Regions from separate parts of the Homo sapiens genome. Here region 1 is linked to region 2. The links are contacts of gene promoters, found by promoter capture Hi-C in blood cells and fetal thymus (Javierre and others, 2016). All regions are on one chromosome and are shown on one strand. The core of a region is centred on a gene start or on the middle of the fragment in contact, and the rest is flanking DNA. Distances in the headings are between cores, read along the strand shown. Region 1 holds the start of OGDH (oxoglutarate dehydrogenase). Region 2 holds the start of UBE2D4 (ubiquitin conjugating enzyme E2 D4).

Region 1 (6,449 bases), core at 1,668-4,167, 680 kb before region 2:
AAAAGGAATGAAGTACCTTTTTTTTTTTTTTTTTGAGACAGGGTCTCACTCTGTCACTCATGCTGGAGTGCAGTGGCGCGATCTCGGCTCACCGCAGCCACCACAGCCTAGGCTCAAGCGATCCTCCCACCTCAGCTTCCTGAGTAGCTGGGATTACAGGAACACACCACTGCGCCTGGCTAATTTTTTTTTTTTTTTTTTTTTGTAGAGACGAGGTCTCACTATGTTCCTCAGACTCGAACTCCTGGGGCTCAAGCGATCTGCCTGCCTCAGCCTCCCAAAGTTGCTAGGATTACAGGCGTAAGCCACTGCGCCTGGCCAAGGAATGAACTACCCATAACACGCAACAACCTGGATGATTCTCCAGGGAATTAAGCTGACTGGAAAAAACCAATCCCAAAAGGCTCTATGAATCCTTTTATTTGGCATTCTTGACATGCCAAAATTAGGGAAATGAAGAACAGATTAGTGGTTACCAGGAGTTGAAGGACTGGGAATGGGAGGAATGTGGGTGTGGCTATAAAAAAGCAATGGAAGGGATCCTTGTGATGACGGGAATATTCTGTATCTTGAATTTTATTAATGTCAATATCTGGCTGTGATATTTACTATAGTTTTGCACAATGTTAGAGAAGTGGGAAAGGAACACAGGATCTCTCTGTACTATTTATTATGACTGCATAGAATAAATTTTTATGTACAATTTCTTAAAATTTTACTGTTTTCAAAATGAATTTCTCAATAATTTGTACAATGATCTCAAAAATTACCTAAAAATCTAAAAAGTAGATGATACTGTAGTTTTTTCTTTCCTTTTTTTTTTGAGATGGAGTCTTGCTCTGTCGCTCAGGCTGTAGTGCCGTGGCGCCATCTCGACTCGCTGCAACCTCTGCCTCCTGCGTTCAAGCGATTCTCCTGCCTCAGCCTCCTGCTGAGGCTGGAGGAGCTCAGCCTGTAGCTGAGACTACAGGCCCACGCCACCATGCCCTGCTAACTTTTGTATTTTTAGTAGAGACAGGGTTTCACCATGTTGGCCAGGCTGGTCTCAAACTCCCAACCTCAGGGGATCCACCCACCTCGGCCTCCCAAAGTGCTAGGATTACAGGCGTGAGCCACTGCGCCCGGCCTTTTTTTTTGAGACAGGATCTCACTGTGTCACCCAGGCTAGAGTGCAGTGGGGCAATAATGGCTCACTGCAGCTTGGACCTCCCTGGCTCATGCCATCCTCCCGCCTCAGCCTCCTGAGTAGTTGCGACTACAAGTATATGTGGTATATGCCACCATATCCGGATAATTTTATTTTTTGTAGACGCCGGGTATCACTTTGGTTGCTCAGGCTGGTCTCCTTGAACTGAGCTCAAGGGATCTTCCTTTCACACTCCCAAAGTGTGGGGATTACAAACGTGAGCCACCACGACTGGCCGAAATTGTGCACGTCAAATGGGTGAATCGTATGGTATGTGAATTTTATCTCAATAAAGATGTTATTTAAAGGGAAAAAGTAACTGAAATGTGAAAAGTGCGCTTAAAAAAAATAATGAGGGGCCGGGCGCAGTGGCTCACGCCTGTAATCCCAGCACTTTGGGGGCCGAGGCGGGCGGATCACCTGAGGTCAGGAGTTCGAGAATAGCCTGGCCAAGGTGGTGAAAACCCGTCTCTACTAAAAATACAAAAATTAGCCGGGCGTGATGGCGCGTGCCTGTAATATCAGCTACTTGGGAGGCTGAGGCAGGAGAATCACTTGAACCCAGGAAGGCAGAGGTTGCAGTGAGCCGAGATCGCGCCACAGCACTCCAGCCTGGGCGACAGAGACTCCATCTCAAACAAGACAACAACAACAAAAAATGAGCATACAGTGATCTTTATTCAACTTCCCAAGATCCAGTCCTCAGCTAATTTACAAAACTACAATAGTGTTACATACTCTCCTAGGTCTACACGGCAAAGTACAGTTTGACTGTTGCAACTAGTGCTGCCTTACAAAAAAAGGCTTTATCCCATGCCACCCATCCTAAACCCAGCTGTTCAGAGCAGTGTACCTGGAAATCAGCCTCAAAGTACGGACTGCAAGACAAGGCACAAGGAAACCCTAACACGAAGTCCTATGTTCTGGGCAAAGGGATGGGGATGGCAGGTGGGACGCACCCAGGTCAGGGCGAGGGCGCGGCAAGTTTTCTATTAAATCTCAGTAGATTACAACTCATATCCAATGTCTGATATATTTTCGAGGGAAAATGGTGCTTGAAAGATGTTTCTACGAGAAATAAGCTTCATCTCGGTCAATCTGTTCGACCCAACTTCTGGCAGCAGGTGTGGGGGCGGCGCCAAGGTCTGCGCGGTAATCCAAACAGGCAGTCCCACCCAGGGCCACCCCAAAGCCAGATGCTCCGACGCAACTCGAGCAGGCCACACTGTCTTTCGGACAAAGCGACGCGGTCCTCACAGGCGGGAAGGAGAGTGCGTCCCGGTCGGGAAGGACGCCGTCGGAGAGCGGCCTAACCACGTGACGCCCGCGGCGACCTTGGGGGTCACCCCTGCGGACGCACCGCCCTCTCCCTCACATCCGCCGCCGCGCCCGCCCCCCGCTCGCCCACCGCCAATGGCGCGTCGCTCCGCGCCCCGCGCGACCTCGGAGCCCGCCCGTACCCGCCAATCTCCGCCCGCCGGGCAGGCCCCGCGGCTCCATTGGCTGCCACGGCCATCCATCAGGTCCCGTCCCTCCTACCACCCTCCGTGAGCCCCACTCCATCCAGCTCCACTCCCCTGTCACCGCGGCGCCCGCAGCACCAAGGGCGCGGCGGCCTCCCCCTTTACCGCGATCTCCAACCCCGGGCCGCCAAGCGCCGCGACACCCGGCACTGGGACGGGCGCGGCGACAGCGCACGGTTACCTGTCTCCGGCTCAGCTCCACCCGAATGAGGCGCCGACACCCCACTCCGGGGCTCCAAACTCTCGGCCCCGCCCCGGCGTATGGCGTCAACACGTAGCCCTCCCCTGGAGAAGAATGCCCTCCCCTCTTACAGAGGACCGATTCGTGACGTCACAGAGCCGCGCCGGGCGTCACAGCGCCGACTGCGCAGTTGCAGAAGCCAGGGCCAGCTGGAGCCCAGCTGTTTGCTCCGCTAGAGAGATGAGGTTGTCTATGGACTTCCAGCGGCTTCTGCTATCATAAATAATTTCTGAAAGTAAGATATCTCTAGCGCCTGGTAGGAACCTATCAAGAGATAGTTGGGTTGATGTGAAACTTAGCGCACAAAAATAAACAATTTGAATAACAGAATCTCCGTTTTTGAGATTGTCCTGGGTCAGGCTTTGTGACAAGCGCTTCACCGGCGCTATTGTGTAACAATCTGTGAGACAGGTGTTCCTATCCCCGGTCTACAAATGACAGTTGGCAGTGCTGGGATCTTGCCCGGGATCTTGCCTGGGTTTTCTTGACTTTAGAGCTACCTATCAAAGATAAAACGTGGCTAATTAACCTGTCACAACCTGTTGATTGTAAGATGTTCCCTATTTTAAAGTATTAAAATTTGGGGAAAGGCCGGGCGCGGTGGCTCACGCCTGTAATCCCAGTACTTTGGGAGGCCGAAGCGGGCGGATCACTTGAGGTCAGGAGTTCGAGACCAGCTTGACCAACATGGGGAAACCCCGTCTCTACTAAAAATACAAAAATTAGCTGGGCGTGGTGGCGATCCCAGCTACTCGGGAGGCTGAGGCAGGAGAGTCGCTAGAACCCGGGAGACGGAGGTTGCGGTGTGCCGAGATCGTGCCATTGCACTCCAGCCTGGGCAACAAGAGCGAAAATCCGTCTCAAAAAACAAACAAAAAAAGGGGGCGTATAAGTGCTTATTATAGAACAAAGTTAGGGTAATGTATGTGACAAGGATCTAGAGACTGGAAGAGGTGAAGAGACCAAGGAACAAACTTCTGTATTCTTTTTTCCTTTTTTTTTTTTAAATAAATTACGGTAAAAATGTATGTACTAAACATTTGCAGCTGGGTGCAGTGGCTCACGCTTGTAATCCCAGCACTTCGGGAGGTGGAGGCGGGAGGATCGCTTGAGCTCAGGAGTTCCAGATCAGCCTGGGGAACAGAGCAAGATCTCATTTCTACTAAAAAATCAAGAAAATTAGCCAGGTGTAGTGGCACTCACCTGTAGTCTCAGCTAATTGGGAGGCTGAGGCAGGAGGATCTCTTGAGCCTGAGAGATTGAGGCTGCAGTGAGCTATGATTGTACCACTGCACTCCAGCCTGGGCCAGAGAGCAAGATACTGTCTTTTTTTTTTTAATGCCATTTTAACCATTTTTAGGTGTATAACTCAGTGGCATTAATTACATTCACAATATTATGCAACCGTCACCACTCAATTTCCAAAACTTTTTCATCACCTGAAACAGCAACTCTGTAACCATTAAGCAATAACTTCCTATTTCCCCTTCTCCTCCTGTCCTTCTCTCCTTTGGTAACCTCTATTATACGGTCTCTATACATTTGATTACTCAATTACTTTATGTGGGTGAAATCATAATGTATATGTCCTTTTGTGTCCACCTTATTTCATTGAGCATGAGGTTGTCAAGGTTTATCTGTGTTGTAGCATGGGTCAGAACTTCATTTCTTTTTTTTTTTTTTGAGACAGGATCTCCCTCGGTTTCAGGCTGGAGGGCAGTGGTGCCATCTCAGCTCACTGCAATCTCTGCCACCCAGGTTCAAGTGATTCTGATGCCTCAGCCTCCCAAGTAGCTGGGACTACTGGCACGCTCCACCATGCCTGGCTAATATTTTTTTCTTTTTCTTTCTTTCTTTTTTTATTTTTGAGATGGTGTTTCGTTCTTGTTGCCCAGGCTGGAGTGCAGTGGTGTCATCTCGGCTCACTGCAACCTCTGCCTTGTAGATTCAAGCAATTCTCCTGCCTCAGCCTCTCAAGTAGCTGGGATTATAAGCGCCCGCCACTACGCCCAGCTTATTTTGTATTTTTAGTAGCGATGGGGTTTCACCATGTTGGCCAGGCTGGTCTTGAACTCTTGACCTCAAGTGATCCACCCACCTCGACCTCCCAAAGTGCTGGGATTACAGGCATGAGCCCCCATGCCTGGCCAGAACTTCATTTCTTTTTATGGCTGAATAATATTCCATTGTATGTATATACCACATTTTGTTTATTTATTCATCTATTGATGGACACTTGGTTATTTCTGCTTTTTTGCTGTTTTGAATAATGTTGCAATGAACATTGGCTTATAAATGTTTGAGCCCATTGTGGTACCAAGCAGTGGGCTCACTGCTAGATGCACATAGAAGCCAATACTATGTCATCACCTTTTGAGAAAAGGCTTTATCGTAAGGTCGACCAGCAGGGAAACCAGAGGCAATACTCAAATTTGTCTCCCCAAGATGGAATCTGGGGGCAGGTTTTATAGGCAGAAGGCAACTATGAGGGAGATGGGAAAATACAACAAGGTGTGATCTGTTTGGGTCATGCAAAGGGGCAATGCTGGATCTTTGGCTTTTAAGTTCATATTGCAGCAAAACAAGGCGCCCCATGCTTCCTAATTTGGTGTCCATTCCTCCATTTGAGTGGTTAAGTCCTGCCTGTGGTTGACTTTTGTGTTCCCACCGACACCAGGGTCAGCTATCAGGCACACTTTGTTCATCTGGGCATACTTAGGTTACGTGACTTGCAGCCTGGGGATCTATTGTAACTGAAAAACAACTCATCATTTTGTTACTGATAAAAGTTGAACCAGGCTGGGCACAATGGCTCACACCTGTAATCCCAGCACTGTGGGAGACTGAGGTGGGTGGATCACCCGAGGTCAGGAGTTCAAGACCAGCCTGGCCAGCAGGGCGAAACCCCCATCTCTACTAAAAATACAAAAAAATTAGCCAGGCTGGTGGTGGGTGCCTGTAATCCCAGCTACTTGGGAGGCTGAGGCAGGAGAATCGTTTGAACTCGGGAGCCGGAGGTTGCAGTGAGCCAAAACCGCTCCTTTGCACTCCAACCTGGGCAAGAAGAACAAAACTCCATCTCAAAAAAAAAAAAAAAAAAAAAAACTGAATCAGATTCAACTGGTCCTGTGGTTACACCTGTTTATAATTCTTTTGCCTGTATACCTGGGAGTGTAATTTCTGAGTTATATGGGAATTCTGTCTAGCTTTTTCAGGAAGTGATAAATTCCCACAGTGACCGCACCTTTTTTGTTTGTTTGTTTTTGAGACAAGGTGTCAGGTTGGAGTGCAGTAGTGTGATCACAGCTCACTGCAGCCTCAACCTCCGGGGCTCAAGTGATCCTCTCAGCTCACGCTCCTGAGTAGCTGGGACAATGGGCATGCACAACCAGGCTAGGCTAATTTTTTCTGTTTTTTGTAGAGACAGGATCTTGCTGTGTTGCCCAGGCTGGTCTCGAAGTCCTGGCCTCAAGCGATCCTGCTGCCTCAGCCTCCCATA
Region 2 (6,101 bases), core at 83-2,582:
GAATGATAAAGTGCCTTGCCCAAGGTCCCACTATAAGTGACCTCACATTCTCTAACCCAGGTCTGTCTGACACCCAAGTCCATACTTTTACCTACTACAGGTAATGACTAAATAAGTTACTAGTCATGTACTTGTGGAAAGTTAATGTTAAAAATTAGTTATAGGACTGGGCATGGTGTCTCACGTTGTAATCCCGCCACTTTAGGAGGCAGAGGCAAGAGGACCGCTTAAGCCCAGGAGTATGAGACCAGCCTGGGCAACATATCGAGACACTGTCTCTACAAAAAATAAACAATTGGCTGGCATGGTGGCATGTAGTCCCAGCTACCCAGGAAGCTGAGGAGGGAGGATCACTTGAACCTAGAAGGTTGAGGCTGCAGTGAGCCATGATTGTGCCACTGTACTCCAGCCTGGGCGATACTCCAGCCTGGGCGACAGAGCAAGACCTCAAAAAAAAAAAAAAAAAAAGTTATAAATACTACTTCACAACATGCTTACATTTACTATTATGTGAATAAGTGGAATACAAAATGCAGTATAATTGTTTTAAATATAGAAAAAAAACTGAAGGTAGGTATGCTAAAATGTTAACAAATAGTAAAGTGATAGAATTAGAAATACTTCTTTCTTCTACTGTTGTGCGTTTTCCAAATTCTAGTGAATGCATTAAACCCTCATGGACTCCCTCTTACCTGCAGGATAAAAACCAGTTACTTCAGCACTGCTCCTAAGGACCACCCAAGTCCACACCATCTGCCCTTCAGCTTCCCCGCTACCCTGTCAGTCCTCCAAGCCTCGTAGTCTCCCCGTTGCAGGGAAAGCCTTTTCCCCTTTTCCCCACCTGCCGAGTTCCTACTCATCCCTTAGGACCCAGCTTCTTCCTGGATACCCTTCTGGATACCCACCCAGCCCTTCTGGATACCCTACAGGGGGAACCCGCTGTCCAGAAGCCTGCAGGTGGCCCCACGGCGCCCCGCCCGCATGACGCAGCCCTCGTGGCCACGGCCCGGCCCCGCCCCGCGCTCGCGCAATCCCTTTCTCAGGCTGCGTTCGCTTTTCAGGCTGCGCGGGAGGCTGTTCTGCCTCCTTCCCAGGCAGGTGTATCCGCGACTCGCGGAGCCTCCGTCACCTTTCACTTCACGGCAGCGGCGCCCCGCCCACACCTCGACGCTTCGGACACCCAAAGAGTTGGAGGGTGGGAAAGTGCGTACCTTCTGGATCCGCTTTAGCGCCATCCTACCCCGCTGCCGGGGACCCGGGCGGCCCGGCCGGGGCTGCCTGAGGCGGCCCGCTGCCGGCTCAGCCGCCACCAAGCTGCACGCCGGGAGCCGCAGCCTGCGCTTGCGCGCGCGGGGCACTGTGGGGCCGTCGTCGCCGCGTGCCGAGCGTCCTGGCGCGGCCGAGGGGAAGCAGCGGGGCTGCCCGGGTTACGCTGGCCACCCGCACCTGGTCCTGTGGCTTCGACCACTAGTCAGCAAGGCCCCGGAGAGGCCAGCGAAGAGGAGGGGCTCGTTGGCTTTACGGAGACGCGCGGAGCACCCTCAAGGTGCCACACGCTCGCCTGCTCCCTGTTCCTACATCCTGGGCGTCTTCCCAGGCTGTCATATAACTCCTGAGAATAGTGGTTCTTAACTCTGTAAGTATATATACCCTCGTACGCCTTATGGCTGGATGCGTTACAGCCATTTCCATGTAGATGTCTGTGCATACGTTCACACGCAAAACTCTCCGCAGTTTTGGAGATCTCCGTGTTCAGTCGTACCTCACGTGATCTTGCACTGCCAACATTGAGAACCCTGGCCTTAGACTATGCATCTCCCAAACTTAATTATCTGTCTCCTTCCTATTTTCCCAAGACTTGGCAGGCGTCTAGGTCAGAGTTGTTCAAACTGAGGGTTATGAACTAGTGTGTCACGAAATCAATTTAATAGGTTGCAACCAACATTTTTTTGAAAAAAAAAAAAAAAAAGCCAGACGAGGTGGCTCACGCCTATAATCCCAGCACTTTGGGAGGCCGAGGCAGGCGGATCACTTGAGGTCAGGAGTTCGAGACCAGCCTGGCCAACATGCTGAAACTCCGTCTCTACTAAAAATACAGAAATTAGCTGGGCGTAGTGACGTATGCCTGTAATCCCAGCTACTTGAGAGGCTGAGGCACGAGAATCACTTGAACCCAGGAGGCAGAGGTTGCAGTGAGCTGAGATCACACTGTTGCACTCCAGCCTGGGTGACAGAGCGAGACTCTGTCTCAAAAATAATAAAAAATAAAAATAAAAAAACAGAATAAAATATCAGTGCATTTCACATAGTAAAGGTAAGAATTGTGGAAGTTTTGTTGGTGTGTGTATGTAGATGATATTTAATCTTCAGACTGAGACATGTTTGAGCATGAAAGTGGCTGTTAATATAATTACTCTGGGACCAACGCTGTAATCTAGAATTGTCTCCAGCCAGCCAAGACACATGGTCACCTCTATGTTTGTACTCAGTCAGCATATAAAATGTATTATAGACATTTCAATAGTTGCCCAGCTTTGTCCCTGGCTTTCACGCTCCCATTCCCCCAATCTGTCCTCCACACAACTTCATGAACTGTCTGAAATATAAAGCTTACCACACTGCATCCTTACCCAGAACTCTTCAAGGAAGCCCCGTGGCCTACAGCATCACATTCACTGTCATCCAGGGGCCTTCAAAATCCAGGATCCTCGGCCGGGCACAGTTACTCATGCCTGTAATCCCAGCACTTTGGGAGGTTGAGGTGGGTGGATCCCTTAGTCCAGGAGTTCTAGACCATCCTGGGCAACATGGTGAAACCCCGTCTCTACAAAAAATACAAAACTTAGCTGGGCATGGTGGTGTGCACCTGTAGTCCCAGCTACTTGGGAGGCTTACTTGAGCCCAGGAGATCAAAGTTGCAGTGAGTTGTGATGGCACCACTGCACTCCAGGCTGGGAGACAAAGCAAGACCCTGTCTCAAAAAAACAAAAACTCAAAGTATCCTCCAGCTTTACCTTCTCCTTCCTACCTCCAGCCCACCTGACTATCAAGTGTTTCCATCACCACAGCATCTACATTCCTTGACTAGAGCATTCACCTTCCAAAGCCAGCTCAAGCATCACCCATTGAACAGCCCAAGTCAAGCACTTCCCCTTGGTGTCAAACATTGACAACAGAAATTTTTGTTAGTCCATGGGCCATCCATCCTCCTACATTATTGACATGGCCTTCCCTCCCCATAAAACAAGTGATTCTAGATTTTATAAATGTTGATATATTTGTGTAAGAATATATAAATGGTTATTTATGTGCTAATAATGTATATGGTGGTTTTGAAGTCTCAAATCTCAAAAATATTACTTTTGGATGGTAGGTTTACTAATGTGTTAATCTCTAAAATTTCTACAGAGAATTTGCATCATTTGTATAATTCAGGAAAAAAACATATAATAGAAAATGAAAAATTCTGTTTCTATTCCCTGTTGGTAGTTTAGTGCATAGTTTTCTAAACTTTTTAGCATGCTTATATGTAATGTTTCATTTTTAACATTGAAATAATTTTAGATGTACAGAAATGTTGCAAGAATAATACACAATTGGTCAGGTGCAGTGGCTTATGCCTGTAATCGCAGCACTTTGGGAGGTCAAGGCAGGTGGATTGCTTGAGGCCAGGAGTTTGAGCTCAGCCTGGCCAACATGGTGAGACCCCATCTCTACAAAAAATACAAAATTTAGCCAGGTGTGGTGGCATGCACCTGTAGTCCCAGCTACTTGGGAGGCTCAGGCTCAATAATTGTTTGAACCCAGGAGGCAGAGATTGCAGTGAGCTGAGATTGCACCACTGCCCTTCAACCTGGGCAACAGCGAGACTGTGTCTCAAAAAAAAAATAATAATAATACACAAAAGATTTTTAAATGGATAAATTTGACTACATGAAAGTTTAAAACTTTTGTGCTTCAAGCAATACCAACTAGAAAACAAAAAGACAACACACAGAATGCGAGAAAATGTTTGAAATAATAATATCTCAGTACAGTCTAAGATGCAGAGTATATTAAGAACATTTAGAACTCAATAAAAAAGACAAATAACCCAATTAAAAACTGGGCAAAAGATGTGAATAGAAATTTCTTCAAAGAAGATACTCAACTGGACAATAAGCACATTTTAAAAAAATCAGGCTGGGTGTGGTGGCTCAGGCCTGTAATCTCAACACTTTGGGAAGCTGAGGTTGGAGGATTGCTCGAGGCCAGGAGTTTGAGACCAGATTGGGCAACATAGCGAACCCCTGATTCTACAGAAAAATTTAAAAGTTAGCTGGATGTGGTGGTGTGCATCTGAGGGCACAGCTATTCGGGAGGTTGAGGTATGATTATTGCTTGATTCCAGGAATTTGAGGCTGCAGGGAGCTATGATTGAGCCACTGTACTCCAGCCCAGGAGACAGAGCAAGACCCTGTCTCTTTGGGAAAAAAAAAAAAAAAAAGGCTGGGCACAGTGGCTCACACCTGTAATTCCAGCACTTTGGGAGGCCAAAGAGGGCAGATCATGAGGTCAGGAGTTTGAGACCAACCTGGCCAATATGGTGAAACCCCATCTCTACTAAAAATACAAAAATCAGCTTGGCATGGTGGTGCATGCCTGTAATCTCAGCCAGTTGGGAGGCTGAAGCAGGAGAATCGCTTGAACCTGGGAGACAGAGGTTGCAATGAGCCGAGATTGTACCACTGCACTCCAGCAGCCTGGGCAACAGAGCGAGACTCCTTCTAAAAGAAAGAAAGAAAGTAAGAGAGAGAGAGAGGAGAAAGAGAGAGAAAGAGAGAAGGAAAGAAAGAAAGAAAGACGGAAAGAAAGAGAAAGAAAGAAAGAAAGAGAAAGAAAAAAAAATGCCTGGTGTGGTGGCTTACATCTATAATCCCAGCAGTTTGGGTGACTGTGGTGGGAGGATCACCCAATCCAGGAGTTCAGGACCAGCTTGGGCAACATGGCAAGACCCCATCTCTACAAGAAAAAAAATTTTTTTTCTTCACCAAAAGCAGATACTTGAAAAAATTTTAAGAATTAGTAGAGCATGGTGGCGCATGCCTGTAGTCCCAGCTATGATTGCTTGGGCCTAGGAGGTTGAGGTTGCTGTGAGCCCCATTCACGCTACTGCATTCCAGCCTGGGAAACAGAGCAAGACCCTGTCTCAAGAAAATAATAATCATGAGTTATAAGGGACATGCAAATCAAAGCCATAATGAGATACCACTTCACACCCTCTAGGATGGCTGTAATTAAAGGGACAGACAACAAGTGTTGACAAAGATGTGGAGAAGTTGGAACCCTCACACATTCTGGTGCGACTATAAAATGGTGCAGTCATTTTTGGAAAAGAGTTTAGCAGTTCCTCAGAAAGTTAAGTGATACCAAGTATGGTGGCTCACACCTGTAATCCTAGCACTTTGGGAGGCCAAGGCAGGTGGATCACCTGAGGTCAGGAGTTCGAGACCAGCCTGGCCAACATGGTGAAACCCTGTCTCTACTAAAAATACAAAAATTATCCAAGTGTGATGGTGCACACCTGTAATCCCAGGTATTCGGGAGGCTGAGGCAGAATCGCTTGAACCTGGGAGGTGGAGGTTGCCAGGAGCCAAGATCGCGCCACTGCACTCCAGCCTGGGTGACAGTGCGAGACCCACTCTCAAACAAACAAACAAAAACGGAAATTAGCTGGGCATGGTGGCCTGCACCTGTAATCCCAGCTACTTAGGAATCGAAGGCAGGAGAATAGCTTGAACCTGGGAGGTAGAGGTTGCAGTGAGCCAAGATCGTGCCACTGCATTCCAACCTGGGCGACAGAGCGAGACTCCCATCTCAAAAAAAAAAAGAAAAAGAAAACCTCGTGCTTGTATTTCAATGCTCAATTATTTACAGAAAAACATAATACCCTTTTGAATTTAGTGTTCACACACAGAATTTCTTTTGCAAGAAACCTTCCACAACTTGTTTAAACCTTTAGCTTTATCTTATCTAATTTAAAATAATCCTTTAACCCTAGACAAAAATTTCCATGTCCATTCCTTCTTAGAACATTTTACTGAGATTATATGATTAATGAT

What was found. Contacts are between HindIII fragments. The CHiCAGO score rates a contact against its expected background, and 5 or more counts as called.
Region 1: the fragment with the promoter of OGDH here is called in contact with the fragment with the promoter of UBE2D4 in region 2 in 1 of 17 cell types (fetal thymus); the score reaches 5.4 in fetal thymus.

What each region holds. Positions count from the first base shown.
Region 1 is chr7:44,603,095-44,609,543 of GRCh38, reverse strand. It overlaps OGDH (oxoglutarate dehydrogenase), which reads right to left and starts at 2,917. Exons shown (of 23, transcript NM_002541.4): 1 at 2,891-2,917. RefSeq lists enhancers at 1,928-2,267, 1,943-2,506, 2,758-3,357 and a silencer at 2,488-2,717. The HindIII fragment of the contact is 8,395 bases long and covers 2,271-6,449 here.
Region 2 is chr7:43,921,667-43,927,767 of GRCh38, reverse strand. It overlaps UBE2D4 (ubiquitin conjugating enzyme E2 D4), which reads right to left and starts at 1,332. Exons shown (of 7, transcript NM_015983.4): 1 at 1,212-1,332. The coding sequence starts at 1,235. It also overlaps a transcript of URGCP not described here. RefSeq lists a silencer at 899-1,438. The HindIII fragment of the contact is 2,907 bases long and covers 1-2,611 here.